Linked DNA regions of Homo sapiens: region 2 is linked to region 1. The links are contacts of gene promoters, found by promoter capture Hi-C in blood cells and fetal thymus (Javierre and others, 2016). All regions are on one chromosome and are shown on one strand. Each heading gives the region's core, a stretch centred on a gene start or on the middle of the fragment in contact. The rest is flanking DNA. Distances are from core to core; before and after follow the strand shown.

Region 1 (7,486 bases), core at 1,475-3,974:
CAGCATCAAGATGCCCGCTCCCGGAAGTGAATTCCTGTTCCCCATTCCCCAGAACCCCCTCCTACTGTGACCTCCTTCAGAGGCCGTAAGCATCAGATGGCCTAGGCCATCTCTGGCTCCTTATCTTACACTGCCATTTTCTTCTTGCTGCTTCTCCCTCCAACTCCCTGTCTCCTGTCAACTGTCCTGCTCCCCGTGAGCTAGCCCTGTGTCAGCAGCTCTGCCCAGGATCTGTGCCCACGCACCGGGGGCTGGTTGACAAGGTATCGGCACAGCTCCCCAATGTACTGGAACACCGTCACCCTGTGCTGCTGGCAATCTTCCCAGAACTGACCAGCCGAGAACTTGGATTTCAGCACCACTGTGGCCCCTGCCAGAAGTGGGCAGGGGGGAAGAAGGGAGGTAAGATTAGGAGCAGAGTGGGGAGCCCAAGCCCCTCTTTCCAGACCCCAGCCATCACTGTAGTCTTTCCCTGGGAAGGGCCCACTGTGGGAGTCACACCGTCAGGAAGCCGTGCTGGCCCTCTTTCCCCTCCCCCGGCCCCTGTCCCCAGCCTTAGAAGAGGTGAATGCCCTTTCCCTACTTCCCAGCCCCAAAGATCTCATCCTCCACACTCTCACTTCCTTGTCTCTCTCTCCCTCTTCTCTTACTTGCCTGTTCCTGGACTGACACAGTCCTTCCCTGCCTTTGACCCTGCAGCCTGGAGTTATGTGGCTGTATGGCCCCCCTCACCGTTCCTCAGTCTGTAGGTCTAGGCAGGTGACATTGCCCTATTGTACAGAGCTCCTGGTGAGTAGGGCTCTGCCCCATCCGTCCTCTAGATTATCTACCCTGGAGGACTCACACCATAGTACGTGCTTAATAAATGTCTACTGGATGAATTAATGAAGGTGGGGTTGGGGAGACTGACCAATGCCCATGCAGCCCACGATGCCCAGCAGGGAACCGGACATGTGGTAGAGTGGGAGGGCGAGGTAGATCACATCTTCCTGGTGGACACCACACAGCTGATAGAAGCCCTGGCATTGCAGGATCTTCAGATGACTGATCCGAGCAGCCTTGGGGAGGCCTGTGGGGTGGCAGTTATGGGACGATCAGGGGAAGGGCAAACTCCAAGCTCTACCTATCTGTTTGCACCCCCGCTGGGTTTCCCACAGAAAGAGGCGGAGGCAGGACAGAAGCTGAGGACCGAGACCAGGCTGTCCTGGAAATATGGGTGGTCTGGGGGAGGTGGAGAAATGAGTAGGAGGTGAGGAGACTGGGGAGTGAAATGATGGGGAGAAAAAGGATGTGCCAATGAAATCAGCATCCTCTCTGGGGGCTTTGAAGGAGTGGTCTGGGAGCAGACCCCTGCCTTCCTCTGCCTTGGTTTCGGGGAGCTAAGTATGGTGCCCGGCCCTCACCCGTGGTGCCAGAGGTGAAGATGTACAGGCACGTGTCTGTTATGCTCTGGGGGGAAGAGAGGTATCCTGGCACTGGCCCATCCACTTCAGCGGACACTTCAGCCAGCAAATCGCTAATTCCAGCAGGGTGGGTTCCTGGGCCTGCAGCCCACAGGTGGAGCCCCATGGCTCTCAGGGCGGGCAGGTCCGGCTCCAGGGACTCCAGAAACTCTAGAAGGGTGGGAAAGCACAACGCCGGGGCCCTGGCTCTACCTAGAAGAGCCTATGACCCATGTCCCCTCCCTATCCCAGCCCACACTGCTCTTGGATGAGGGTGAAGGGTATGGACATTCCATCTTGGGTCTGAGGCCTGGAACTCGACTCCTTGGGGATCCTTGGGGCACCAAAGATTCAGCCTCATCCCTTCTCAAACCCGGAGACTCCTATCTCCACCCACTTTCGAACCCCAAGGGATAGTCGGCTTCTTCCCAGGCCCAGGGATGAGACCAAGCCTTTCTGTGGTCTCCGACACGCCCCCTTCTGTGGCTGGCCCCGCCTTAGTCAGTTCGGAGCTCCAGCCTTACCTGGCGCCAGCACCAGCGCGCGCGCGCCGCAGCTGCGGAGGCAGTGCAGCAGGGGGCCCCGGCGCAGGGCGGTGGGCACAAAGGCAGTGCGCAGGCCGGCCTTGGCCAGCCCGAACCAGAGCCACAGAAACTCTGGGCCAGCGGGGAGGAGCAGCGCCACAGTTGCTCCAGGTGACAGAGGGGCGGCGGCTCCTCCACCTCTGGCGGCACCGTCCCCTCCGGCAAACTCCGCGCCGCTTCCGGCCGCTGCATCTCCGGCTCCCGGCGCTGCCCGCTCGCCTTCTCCAGCGCTCCCCTCGCCGCTGTCGCCGCCGTCGGGTCCCCAGTCCCAGCCTAGCGCACGTAGGAAGGCGCGTGCAGCCCTGTTACTCTCGCGCTCCGCCTCTGAGTAGCTAAAGCGCCGCGAGCCGTGAATGAGAAAGGTGTGCGCGGCGCGCTGCTGGGCCAGTTCCGCGAGGCGCCAGGCCAGGCTGCAGCCCCCCTCGGGACCTTCCGGGTCGGCGGCAGCCGCGGCCAGGGCGCGAGCTCGAAGAGCCCTTTTGCAGCACAGAGCTCGCACCGCAAAGGCCAAGTCCGCCGGAAGCCAGCGCAACTGCGGCCAGAGGTGTAGCTTCAGCAGCAGCAGCGGTAGCAACAGCAGCAGGGGCAGCAGCAGGAGGGCAGCCATGGAGCCCGCTTCCTCTATCGGCACCGTCTGGTTCCAGCCGCTCGCAAACATCCCTGATCCTCCCTTCCGAAAACCTAGGGCCGCTCGTTCTAGCTGAGACTTCTCCTTCCAGGGAGCGCGCGTGCGCTGGCACACGCCCATTCCCACCCAGGCCCCCACCACTCCACACGGGCGGAGAGCAGAAACCCGGGAGGAGTGCGGGTGTGGGGCGGCCCCGGACTCCCAGCCCTCCCCCCACAGCCTACGCTCCGCCCTAGGCGCGCTCCCTCCCGGACTGCTCGCGGCTCGCACCCTACCAGGTCCTGGGCGGTGCTCGCGCCTTCCCTGAATCCCAGGGTTATGTCTGTCTTCTAAGTTGTTTCTCGGCTTGGGCGGTTTAGGCATCTGGCTAAGCCCTAGAGTCCAGGCCTGAGAGCCAGGGCGTTTGGATCGCAGTCCATCTTCCCCTCAATATTTCTCGTTTTCCCGTTAAGGGAAGGTACCATTGCTCTCTCCCAAAAGAATGAACTTGGCCCCTGGCCCATTTGGTTCTGCAAGTCCCGGCCTGCCAGCCGCAACCCCAGGGGATGGGTGGGGGCTGAGAGTTAAATAGGGGAAAGGTGGAAACCCAGACTGCCAGATTTCTGAGGGGTCACGACAGAGGCCCCTCCCTTTGGGCAAGGGTACAATAATTGGGGCCAGCCAGCAAATGCTCTCCATCCTGGTTTTAATTGGGACAGAGGAAACTGGGGAAGGAGAGAGGAAGGAAAAAGAAGCCTCCAGTGGTTTAGACTTTCAAAGGAAGCAACAGCAGTGATGAGGGAGGGGAGAACCTGGATTCTGTAAAAAGACAAATTTTCGGGGTGAAGAGGAGCAGCTCTGTGCAGTTCGCCCAAACTTCACTCCTCAGTCCACCTCCATTCTCCCTGGACAGCGGGGGAACAACAGCATAGCCAAGGAACTCTCCTCTGCTGGTTCACATGGCCCAGCAAGTGGCCACACTGTGGAAGGAAGAGCATCTCTGTCCCTCCCTGGTATCCAGACTTTATCTCCAGGTACAGTTGTCCCTGGAGACCAAGCTGGAGCATCCCTCCCGTCAAGCAGCGAGTCCTCCGGCCATTCTTGGTAGGCACACAGACTTCAACTGGAGGATGACAGACCTTTTGGAAGCATCTTGTTTCTTGAGAAATGAGTAAGGACAGGCCTCATCCTACGGGGGATGGTTCTGCATAGACAGATCAGTGCCTGGCTCCCACCTCCAGTGGCAGCAGGAAGGATGGGTAGTGGCCAAAGCCAAGTCCCTTCTGCTCTAGACAAAAGTGGGGGCAGAACAGGAAGGGAAAGGGGGATGTTCTGCGGTTACAAGTAGGGGTGCCAATCAAATCAAGACCAAGCTATACATGCACGGGGCAAATGCCAGCAGACACTCCAGCACAAAAGACATTCTGGCTTGTTTTATTGTCATTTAAAAACAACTTTTAAGACACGATTATCTCTGCCAAAAAAAAAACAAAAAAAAACAAAAAAAAAAACAGACTCAAGGAAATGGGATCATTTGACAATTCTGTGAAACTTGCCTCTGGGACTCCCTGGGCTCTGGTGTAGATTGAGGTGCCAACCTCAGACCAACCTAAGCCTCCAGGGCACACCACGTGGGGCTGTGGCCACCCTTTCAGACTCCTTTCTGAATGCTTGTGGCATCTGCCCCATGATTAGGAATGGACACCCTGACCACGTCATAGATGCCCATTTCACACTGGCATGTGGATAGTGACTATAAAACGTCCCTTCAGAACAAACCAAGACCTGAAGGGGAAGCAGGAAGGGACACCCACACACTGAGTCTCTGCTCTCATCCTAGCTTATCTGGCCAGCTGCCCCTTTGTCATTTCCCTTCTCTGTTGAAATGGCTCTTTGGGAGACTGGGGGAGGAGATTGCGGAAGGGGCCAGGGGGCTGAGGACTTCCACTATGGTCTGATTTTACAGAGCCTCTGGCTTCAGTCAGATCCCAAATATCACTGGGAACAGCAGTGTGAGGGGCTGGAGGCCCCAGGAGGAGGGAAGGGGCTAGGGGCTGCATGGCAGCTTCTCAAACTCAGCCAGAGGAGAAAGCTCCTCCTTCCACCGGGGGAGCTTGGGGATGCAGCAAGGGTGTTTCCCCTGCAATCTCCTCAGCCTCTATTAACCTTTGAATCACCAAGAAGGAGAGGGCAGTCCAGCCGGGGGTGGGATGGGGAATGCAGGGCCTCAGTCACTGTCAGAGCCCACTGCAGAGGACCCTTTTCGTTTCCGCTTGGTAGGCTTCGGTTTCGTGTCTTCCTCTTCCTGGAAGAGATGGGAGGGGAAATGGGAAGTTAACAGCCTGGGCAGCTGCTGGCGCCGACTCCACCTGCACCCAGTGCTCCTTTTCCCCCTGTGCACTGGCTGGGTTCTCACTGAAGCACTGCTGGAGCCCGACTCTTCTTCGGCATTGGGGGGCTGTGTGGCATTCTTTCGACTTCGAGGGCTGGACAGAGCTGCTTTTCGCCGGCTCTTGGGTGGCTTGGTGGAAGAGTCCTCATATTCCTCCGCCAGGGAGAAGAGATCACTGAATCTAAGGAAAAGGAGCGGTAGCTCTTTGAGTGGGAGCCTGCTGCTCCTACGGCACCTCCCATCCTCTTCTCTGCCCCCAGGCCTAGGCCTTCTTTTTCTTCAACCCTGGACCCTAAGGTCTTGCTGGCCATTACGTTTATGTCCCTAGCAGGCTTCCTCTCCCTTAGGCTTTTCCCCTACTACTTTCCAAGGCCCAAAGTGGCAGGAGCCTCACTTCATCTTGTGGGCTTCGTCACAGCTCGCTTGGACATGCTGCAGCGCCTGGAGAATTGGCGTCTGGCTAAAAACTAGAGGAAGAAAAGGGAGAGCAGGGAAGGAAAAACAATCAGATGTCTGGGAGCTTATTAAACAGCACGCACAGGTTGTTTTATCCCGAGTGTGGGTTGTGGCCCCGGGTGTCCTGCCCCTGCCCCCAGCCTGGCTCCAGGCATAGTCTGGGCCAGGGCAGCACCGTCTACACTGGACGCCGAGGGTGGAAGGCATACAGTTCTGCTTGGTGTTGGTCAGGTTGAGCCGCAGATTGTCCAAGTGCTCCAGGATCTGCTCCAGAGTCAGCTGGGCCAGCTTGCTGCTAGAGCTCCTCAGGCTGTGCAGGAATCACCAGAGCCAGAGTCTGAGTGTGGGAGGGTTCCAGAGTGCGAGACACCCTCCACCCGCCAGGGCCCCCTTAAGACAGAGGCAGCCTACATGGGGAACAGGATAGGCAGCCTGGGAGGGCTGGGGTTGGGTGAGAAAGGTGTGCCTAGAACAGGGGATCCTGGCCACAGGGGCACTGGAAGATGGGGAGAAAGGGCCACGGTGGTCTCGCATGCCATGTGGCTTCGGACCACTAGATGTCGCCCACAAACCAGGCTGGGACAGCACTGACCCCCATCACCACCACCACCACCACCACCACCACCACCGACAGCAATCACTGCAGACCGCCATGGCCTGGAGGGTAGACAGGGACCGTGTCCCACCTCTGTCTCTTGCGAGGCAGGCTGTTGTTCTTGATGAGCAGGGACTTGATGTGCTCGGCCAGCAGCTCGTCATGTTTCATGCACCAGTGCCGCAGGATGCTGGTGGTGAACTGGTCGTCAGGATGGCAGGGCCGGCTCAGCACCATCTTCACCATCTCCTCGCTGGGCCTGGGGGAGGAAGGGGGCACTGGGTGCTGCTTGCACAGTGGCCGCAGGGCATGCTGGGTCTCTCCCACTTATTTCCCAAGCCCTGGCCTCCCCACCCACCCACTACTCTCACATCCCTCTCCCTCTTCTCCTTAGGCCAAGGAATGCCTGGTTTCATCCTCTGTGGAAGCCAGGAGAGAAGAAGTGAGATTCTTCACTTGCTGTGGTAGGAGAAGGCGTGTGCGTGTGTGTGTTGGGAAGGAGGACCCTCAGTTCTCCTCCTCCTCCCCTAGAACAGTCAGGGAGTGGGCCTGGGAGGCAGAAGCACAAGCATGTGGCATGCAGATGCTCCCCTACCCCTACCCTGCTAAAGCTGTGGGCCAACCTGGCTTCCAGCTGGAGGAAGGGGGCAGGAGAGGGTTGTGAAGTCACAGCCCCATACAGCCTCCAAGCTTCCCACTTCCTCTAGGACACTCTGTACCATTTATAGTCTCTCAGGCAAGAGAGCAGAAAGGGTGGAAGGAAGGCAGAAAGGTAGGAAGGATAAGATACACAGCTGCTGCCCCATTTATCGGGGGATGTTGCTAAAGGGCTTTGCGGGAAGAGGGGGCTGCCACCCTCTCCCTCTCTGCCCCACCCTGTCAAGGCACAGTAGGTCCAGCTGGCTCTGCTCTGCACAGGGTGAGGGAGAGGATGGTGCGTGACCCCTCTACCCTGACCCTCCCTCCTCTTGGATTAGCTGTGCGGTGGCCAGCAGGAGCATGGGGCGGTGGGGGGGGCGCGGCGGGGAGCAGGAGCCACCAGGGATTAGAACTGCTGTGGCAGCAGGAAACAGGGATGTCCGGTCCCCACCTCCCCACCTCCGAGGGCAGCTCCTGGTGGGCAGGGGGGTAAAGTCGAGAGGAAGCCCAGATCCCAGGGGAGCTGCTCATTTGTAAGTCACGTTGGGGGAAGGGCAGAATAAGCAGATGTTAACGACAGGAAAAAATATGGCAATAAGGAGGAGGACAGAAGCCCTTTAGACCACAGCAGCTCTTGGGATGTTAAAATTGAGGGCTAAAGAGCCCCAGAAGTGGAACTCACTTTTCTCTTCGGAGTTGAAGCAGTAGGCAGGACAGGGCCTCTGGGTGCTCTGTGAGGGAAGGGCAGAGGCTGTTCAGGGGGAAGGTATG
Region 2 (7,486 bases), core at 1,713-4,212, 110 kb before region 1:
TGGCCTCCCAAAGTGCTGAGATTACAGGCGTGAGCCACCGCGCCCCACTGGCCTCTTATCTTTCTATTGATAATGTAGATGTTTGTAAATTTCCTGTGACTTTTTTTATTTTGTATTCTGAAGAACTTACATACCCAAATAGAGTACAAAGTAATTAACTTTCATGTGCCCACCACAAGCTTCAAAAATTACTAACATTTTGCTATTCTTTACAGTTAATTTTAATGTTGAAAATACAGAGAACATATGAAAATAAGTAACATGTGAGTGTATTTTAAATTTGACGTTCACGCATCTACAACTTTCCTCTTGCCAGCTGTTTCCTTTTATGTTGTCTCCATCTTTCTCATTAGTGTAATTATGAGGGGGGTTAATTGTGTGATTGTCTTGAAATTCCGATAATTGGATGGCTCACAAGTCTACCAAGTTTGAGTGAAGTAAATTCTGAACTTGCCTGCCCAGAGTGATTTATAAATATACATGGTACATTCTTTGTTTTGTGTGTTTTTTTTTTTTTTTTTTTTTTTGGAGACGGGGTTTCGCTCTTGTTGCCCAGGCTGGAGTGCAATGGCACGATCTCGGTTCACCAGAACGTCCGCCTCCTGGGTTCAAGCAATTCTCCTGCCTCAGCCCACCGAGTAGCTGGGATTACAGGGATGTGCCACCACGCCCTGCTAATTTTGTATTTTTAGTAGAGATAGGTTTTTTCCATGTTGGTCAGGCTTGTCTCGAACTCCCGACCTCAGGTGAGCCACCACACCCGGCCTGATACATTCTATTTTTATTCAATAATTAGATCTAGTTCTAGTATAGCCTGTTGAACATAGCAATTCAGTGAGGTGATTATTAAAGTGGAGGGCAAATTAAAAGATTTATGGAAGTCACTGACTGTATGGCTGTGATAACTTACATTTTAGTCTTAGGTTTTCTATTATTACTCCTCATGGTTTGGGGCTCTTAAGTCAGAGATTGAGTAGAACGTCACTATATAGAGGGTAGCTATATATTTTTTTCTTTTTTGCATTGTTTATGATTTCAGAGGATAAAGATAAGAGCAACCTTCACAACAGAAGTGAAAGATGAGAAGCTTAATGTAGAGTAAAATGTCTGAAGCTCTAAGTGAAACTGTTGATAAGCTGGGATTTCTACTCTTGGAACGCTAGAGAGGAAGAGACACTTAGATACTTAGTAACAGCAAAAAGCCAGGCCAAAAAGTAGAACTCAAGTGCTTAGAAACTCTGTGGCAAAAGAGATAAACGTGACTACTAAAACTACTTTCTCTTTCGTCTGTGGCACTTAGTTGATAACAGTTGTTAGCACATTTAGATGTTCAAGTTTAATTTTTGTTGTCAGAAAAGTATGAACATTTGTGACTTGCCTAAAAAGAACTTGGTCCCCCTGCAAAGATAGAGGGAAGGTACAGATCGGAGTGAATGAAAATAATCAGCAATCAAGTATTAAGAAATGAAGTATTTGCACACCTCATCACTGGGAATCAATAGCATGCTGCTGATACAGGATGAGAATAAGTTAGGGATTTAGGACTATTCTAGTTAGGTACTATCTTGTAGACACTACTAGAGATACTTTGTCTTTTGGAAGACAGAAATTATTCTGTAGGTATTAAATACTAATATAATGCTCCATATGATTTTCATGGTTTTTTTTCCAAGGATAGGCAGTGGAATCCCCCAGTTGCCTTAGGAAAATGTATACCACCCTTACAGAAGAGATTGGCCTAGACACATCTTGTGCTGTATGATAAATGAAAAAGTTGATCTGTTTATTTTCTCTGTTCCTGTATGATGATTAAGTCATTGAGTAGTGTATGGCAGTAATTTTTTTTTTTTTTTTGAGATAGAGCCTCACTGTGTTGCCCAGGCTGGAGTGCAGTGGCGCGATCTCAGCTCACTGCAACCTCCGCCTCCCAGGTTCAAGTGATTCTCCTGCCTTAACCTCCTGATTAGCTGGGATTACAGGTGCCTGCCACCATGCCCGGCTAATTTTTGTATTTTTAGTAGAGACAGGGTTTCACCATGTTGGCCACGGTGGTTTCCAACTCCTGTCCTCAAGTGATCCAGCTGCCTTGGCCTCCCAGAGTACTGAGATTACAGGCATGAACCACCACACCCAGCCTGCAGTAATTTTTTATGCTTATTTGCAATACTTGAGTCAATAGAAGTCTTGAAGGCCTCTACAGTTATCTTACTTCCTGTAAACCCATAATGAGTTAACACATTAAGGAATATGCTTTGACTGTGTACAGTGGCACACACCTTAGTCCCAGCCACTGGGACAACACAGCGAAACCTTGTCTCTTTAAAAAAAATAAAATAGGAGTACTACTTTGAGAACAGTACTCCCTAATTTAAATGCTGTCTCAGGACTCGAAGTCTTGTTCTCATTTCTTGTGTCTGTGTTAAGAACTAGTCCATATTCTGCATTATAAGGTAGTGTACCTAGTTTTTACTTTAGCCAAAATTTTGATAAATACATCTTCCCAAATAGTGGTAGACACTTACTTCACTTGTCAATCAATCAGTCATTGATTGGTAACTCCCAAGTGATTGAAAACTGACTTCCCTTGTTAGACTAAACTGCCTTTTTCCAGAGAACTCAGCAGTGCACATTAGGTTGGGTGTGATTCCCAATTTGTGTATCAGGGATTGGGAAAGCAAATGGTTTTCTTTGTATTAGTGCTTGATTGCCTGGTGTGCTATTTCTAAACATGTGGAGAGGAATCCTCATCTCCAAAGAACTGATGTTTTCTTTTGACCAGTTGAGCTATTTTCTGTTTAATGAAGAAAAAATGTAACTTTTTGACCATATGAATGGGGTTTGGCTGTTCTGTGATCTGATTTGTTGTTGTAATAGTAATTTTGAAGCATTGTGGTCTGATTTCTCCAAATAGACTGGACCGACTCAAAGCAGACAGGACTATAAGAAGTAGGAGAGGACTAACAGCTAGATAAACAAATTTTGGCTTGTATTATTGGACACCAGTGAATAATTTTAAGTGTAAGTTAACCATTTAGCCATGTTTCAGCATAATGTTGGCTTTTTAAAAAAACAGCTATTTTTCGGCCAGACGCAGTGGCTCATGCCTGTAATCCCAGTGCTTTGGGAGGCTGAGGTGGGCGGATCATGAGGTCAGAAGATTGAGACCATCCTCGCTAACACAGTGAAACCCCGTCTCTACTAAAAATACGAAAAAAAAAAAAATTAGCCGGGCGTGTTGGCAGGCACCTGTAGTCCCAGCTAGTCGAGAGGCTGAGGTCCCAGCTAGTCGGGAAGCTCAGACAGGAGAATGGCGTGAACCCGGGAGGCAGAGCTTGCACTAAGCTGAGATAGCGCCACTGCACTCCAGCCTGGGCGACAGAGCGAGACTCCGTCTCAAAAAAAAAAAAAAAAAAAAAAAGGAAAACTATTTTTCAGCGTTTGTAATGGTTCTAATACTGATCTGATTGCTGAGTCCAAGGATATACAGTCATGCCTCACGTAATGGTAGTCCCATAAGGTTGTAACATCATACTTTTGCCATACATTTTCTATGTTTAGATATGTTTAAACAAATACTTACCATTGTGTTATAATTGCCAGTATAGTAACAGACTATACTATATAGGTTTATAGCCTAGGAGCAATAGGCTATACCATCTAGGTTTGTTTAAATACACTTTACAATGTTCACACAACGGTGAAATCACCTAATCATGTATTTTTCAGAATGTATCCCTGTTGTTAAGCAACACATAACTGTATGTTAAAATGGGGACAAAGATTTAACAAGTTATTTATAAAATTTGTAAAGGGCAAAGATAACGACTGTTTTTGCCAGTTTATGATATTACTGAGTTTTTGTTAAGTGGTTCTATGAAGTTTACATTTCTTTTGTAGGAGTACCTTTAAGCATTCAGTTGCAATCAATTTGAACTCTGTTGCCTAAGCCTGGATATCACCTCTTTTCTTATGCTATTCTTTGTGATTTGATCCTCCCAGACAGCATTTATCAAATTCTTTTTGTATCTAGGTTGTACATCTTTAGATCTTTAGTCTTCCTTTTTTTTTTTTTTTTTTGGAGACGGAGTCTTGCTCTGTCGCCCAGGCTGGAGAGCAGTGGCGCCGTCTTGGCTCACTGCAAGCTCCGCCTCCTGGGTTCACACCATTCTTCTGCCTCAGCCTCCTGAGTAGCTGGGACTACAGGTGCCCACCACCACGCCCGGCTAATTTTTTTGTCTTTTTAGTAGAGATGGGGTTTCACCATGTTAGCCAGGATGGTCTCAATCTCCTCGTGATCCACCCACCTTGGCCTCCCAAAGTGCTGGGATTACAGGCATGAGCCACCGCGCCCAGCCCACACTCAGCTAGTTTTTGTATTTTTAGTAGAGACGGGGTTTCACCATGTTGGCCAGGCTGGTCTCGAACTCCTAACCTCAGATGATCCACCTGCCTCTGCCTCCCAAAGTGCTAGGATTGCAAGTGTGAGCCACCATGCCCAGCCCCTTTTTTAAAATTTAAATATTTTTCCTTTACTTGTCACTGACTTGAAGCTCATGTCCTTAGCTTTTCAGAAGTAGTCCTGGGTGAAATCATCTATGAGTGGAGATCATACATGTCTGTCAGAGACTTTATGTGTTTTTACTTCCATCATATTTGGCTAATATTTTCTTTAATCCAGTGGGTAAAGTGGAGATTGGCAAGGCAAGCATGGTTACCCTGGAGAACTGGGCTTTTGAGTGCTGAGAAATGCTCAAGGCATCGTGGTATAGTGGAAAGCATATGGGCTTTGGAGCCAGCCTCTAATTGTGAGCTGTATGAGTGACTTCATTTAAGCTTTTTAAAATTTCACTGAATTAATTTCCATATCCAGAAGATGGAGAACAGGGCCGGGCACATTGGCTCACACCTGTAATCTCAGCACTTTGGGAGGCCGAAGCGGGAGGATCTCTTCAGGCCAGTAGTTTGAGACCAGCCTGGCCAACATGGTGAAACCCTGTCTCTACTAAAAATACAAAAATTAGCTGGGTGTGGTGGCAGGCCCGTGTAATCCCAGCTGCTTGGGAGGCTGAGGCAGGAGAATTGCTTCAGCCCGGGAGGCAGAGGTTGCAGTGAGCTGAGATCGCACCATTGCACTCCAGCTGGGCAACGGAGCGAGACTGTCTCGAAAAAAAGAAATAAATAAAAAGAAAATGGAGAAAAGATCCTACCTTCCTGGCTTGGTGCATTAAATGCTCAGTGAATGTAGATCTTTTTCTTAACTTTAGATAATTTGGTATTCTTTAGGGTATCACAACTTGAGTAATATTTACCAAGAGGAAGTTTTTTTGTTTTTGTTTTTGAGATGAAGTCTCACTCTTGTCCCCCAGGCTGGAGTGCAGTGGCACGATCTCGGCTCACTGCAGCGTCATCCTCCCAGGTTCAGACGATTCTCCTGCCTCAGCCTCCCCAGTAGCTGGGATTACAGGCACCTGCCACCATGCCCGGCTAATTTTTTTTTTGAGGTGGAGTCTCGCTCTGTCGCCCAGGCTGGAGTGCAGTGGAGCGATCTCAGCTCACTGCAAGCTCTGCCTCCCGGGTTCAGGCCATTCTCCCGCCTCAGCCTCCGGAGTAGCTGGGACTACAGGCACCCGCCATCACCACGCCTGGCTAATTTTTTTGTATTTTTAGTAGAGACGGGTTTCACCGTGTTAGCCAGAATGGTCTTGATCTCCTGACCTCGTGATCTGCCCGCCTCGGCCTCCCAAAGTGCTGGGATTATAGGCATGAGCCACTGTGCCTGCAACGCCAGGCTAATTTTTGTATTTTTAGTAGAGATGGGGTTTCACCGTGTTGGCCAGGCTGGTGTCGAACTCCGGGCCTCAGGTGGTCTGCCCGCCTCAGCCTCCCAAAGTGCTGGGATTATAGGCGTGAGCCACCACGCCTGGCAAAGAGGAAGTATTTTTAAATTTAGTTTTCACCTCACACAATTAAGTACTTTGGTTTTGGGTGAGTATGATTTAGCTGAAAAGAGTAGGGTCTCTGCCCACTATATAGTTCTTAATTTTCCAAGGCTCTGAAGGTACCTCTGGACTACTAATCAATCCAACATATAGAGGGAGATATAGTAAACGTAGAGTACTGCCTCAGCCTCTACAATGTTGAAGATTTAACTCATGGCAATCAATGGTAATTGCTACAGACAGCTTAATTGTATCTAAGCTTTTTATATTAAAAACTGATAAAAAAGAAAAAAAAAAAAGACCAGTGCAGTCAGATGTATTCAGCAGACTCACGTGGGAATTATCTTTGAATGGGTTGTTAAAAAATAGACAATCATACTTACCATCATCAACATGGAACTAGTGAGCTTCAGTTTAAAATTCATAATTGGTTTCCTGTGGAAATGTGATGAATGAGAAGAAATAATCTATTTTGCTTGCGACATTTATCATGTTTTCCTTTATGTTGTAAAATGATAGCAGTGTCTAGATCTGGATACCTCTGATGGTCTCCTATTAAGAGGACCTTATTGTGACTGAGATAGTACGGTATCAACCACTTGAAGCTCATGTTGTGTTGTAGATAAAGGGTTTTCCTTTGTAGTTTGTAAATTGTTGAATTTCTTATGCCAGTGGCCAGTACTACTTAGTTTTGATTTAGCTCGGTGTTAGTTTTCTGAAAATTGAAGTTAATATTATATGGCTCAGGAAAACTTTTATTTAGAAATAATATTTTTGCGTAGGGTGAAGATTATTTTTCTCCATGTTTGCTAGAAACTTTAATATTTGAGAACAAGGGCTTTGTGAGAGACTCTGATGGAGGCAGTAATTATGATGTGAATTTCAGAGGTCCAAATGAGGCAAGCATTTGGAATGACATATTCATGGGAGATATCAGTTGAAAAGTAAGAAAATCCCTCCCCCCTTGTTATTCCTTGTTACAATTTATAACTAGTTGATCAGATAGAGAAAGATCCTAGAGCAAAGGTCCTCAGCCAATAGATCTCCAAGAAAACAATTACCATTGCCCTTCTTCCTCTTTGGTTTACTTAGATTTCTTCCCCACTATTTTCTGACCCCATATCAGCACTTTGGGGAAGTGAAAAGTCCTTATAAAATGATTGGAACAAGTTGCTCTAAAACAGGAAAGGGAAAGTTAATCAGAGACCAGGCTTAGGTATGTCTAGCATCTGGATTTGTCTATAGAATGACATAGGGATGTGTGTGTGGTAAGTGGGATGTGGTAGGTGAGGAGGTGCTAGAATGCAAAGAGTAAAGTGTTCTAGCTATGACACAGGAAAGTGGAATAATATTGCAATCATACTATGGCTGGGCTTAAAGCATTAAAAAATTTTTAAATTGCAGTAAAATATACATAACAAAGGCCTAAGCTGTTTTTAAAGAATGCATGGGTACTGTCTTGACTACTTTGCTGTGAAACCTTGCTATGCTTTGTGTTAGGTGCGGATTCAGCTGCCCTGAACGGTGTCAATGGATCGGGTTAAATC

The links. Contacts are between HindIII fragments. The CHiCAGO score rates a contact against its expected background, and 5 or more counts as called.
Region 2: a contact is called between a fragment that was not itself captured here and the fragment with the promoter of SLC27A3 in region 1, in 2 of 17 cell types (monocytes and M1 macrophages). The highest score is 5.7, in monocytes.

What each region holds. Positions count from the first base shown.
Region 1 is chr1:153,770,645-153,778,130 of GRCh38, reverse strand. SLC27A3 (solute carrier family 27 member 3) reads right to left here and starts at 2,724. Exons shown (of 10, transcript NM_024330.4): 1 at 1,967-2,724; 2 at 1,404-1,613; 3 at 911-1,069; 4 at 246-370. The coding sequence starts at 2,633. It overlaps INTS3 (integrator complex subunit 3), which reads right to left. Exons shown (of 30, transcript NM_023015.5): 25 at 7,398-7,446; 26 at 6,168-6,335; 27 at 5,691-5,791; 28 at 5,420-5,492; 29 at 5,050-5,206; 30 at 3,323-4,938. The coding sequence ends at 4,861. RefSeq lists a silencer at 2,097-2,288 and an enhancer at 1,657-2,323. The HindIII fragment of the contact is 7,576 bases long and covers 1-6,768 here.
Region 2 is chr1:153,882,455-153,889,940 of GRCh38, reverse strand. The region is part of intron 1 of GATAD2B (GATA zinc finger domain containing 2B); the gene reads left to right. Among named protein-coding and RNA genes, the nearest start is that of GATAD2B, 37 kb to the left of the region's middle. The HindIII fragment of the contact is 3,746 bases long and covers 1,090-4,835 here.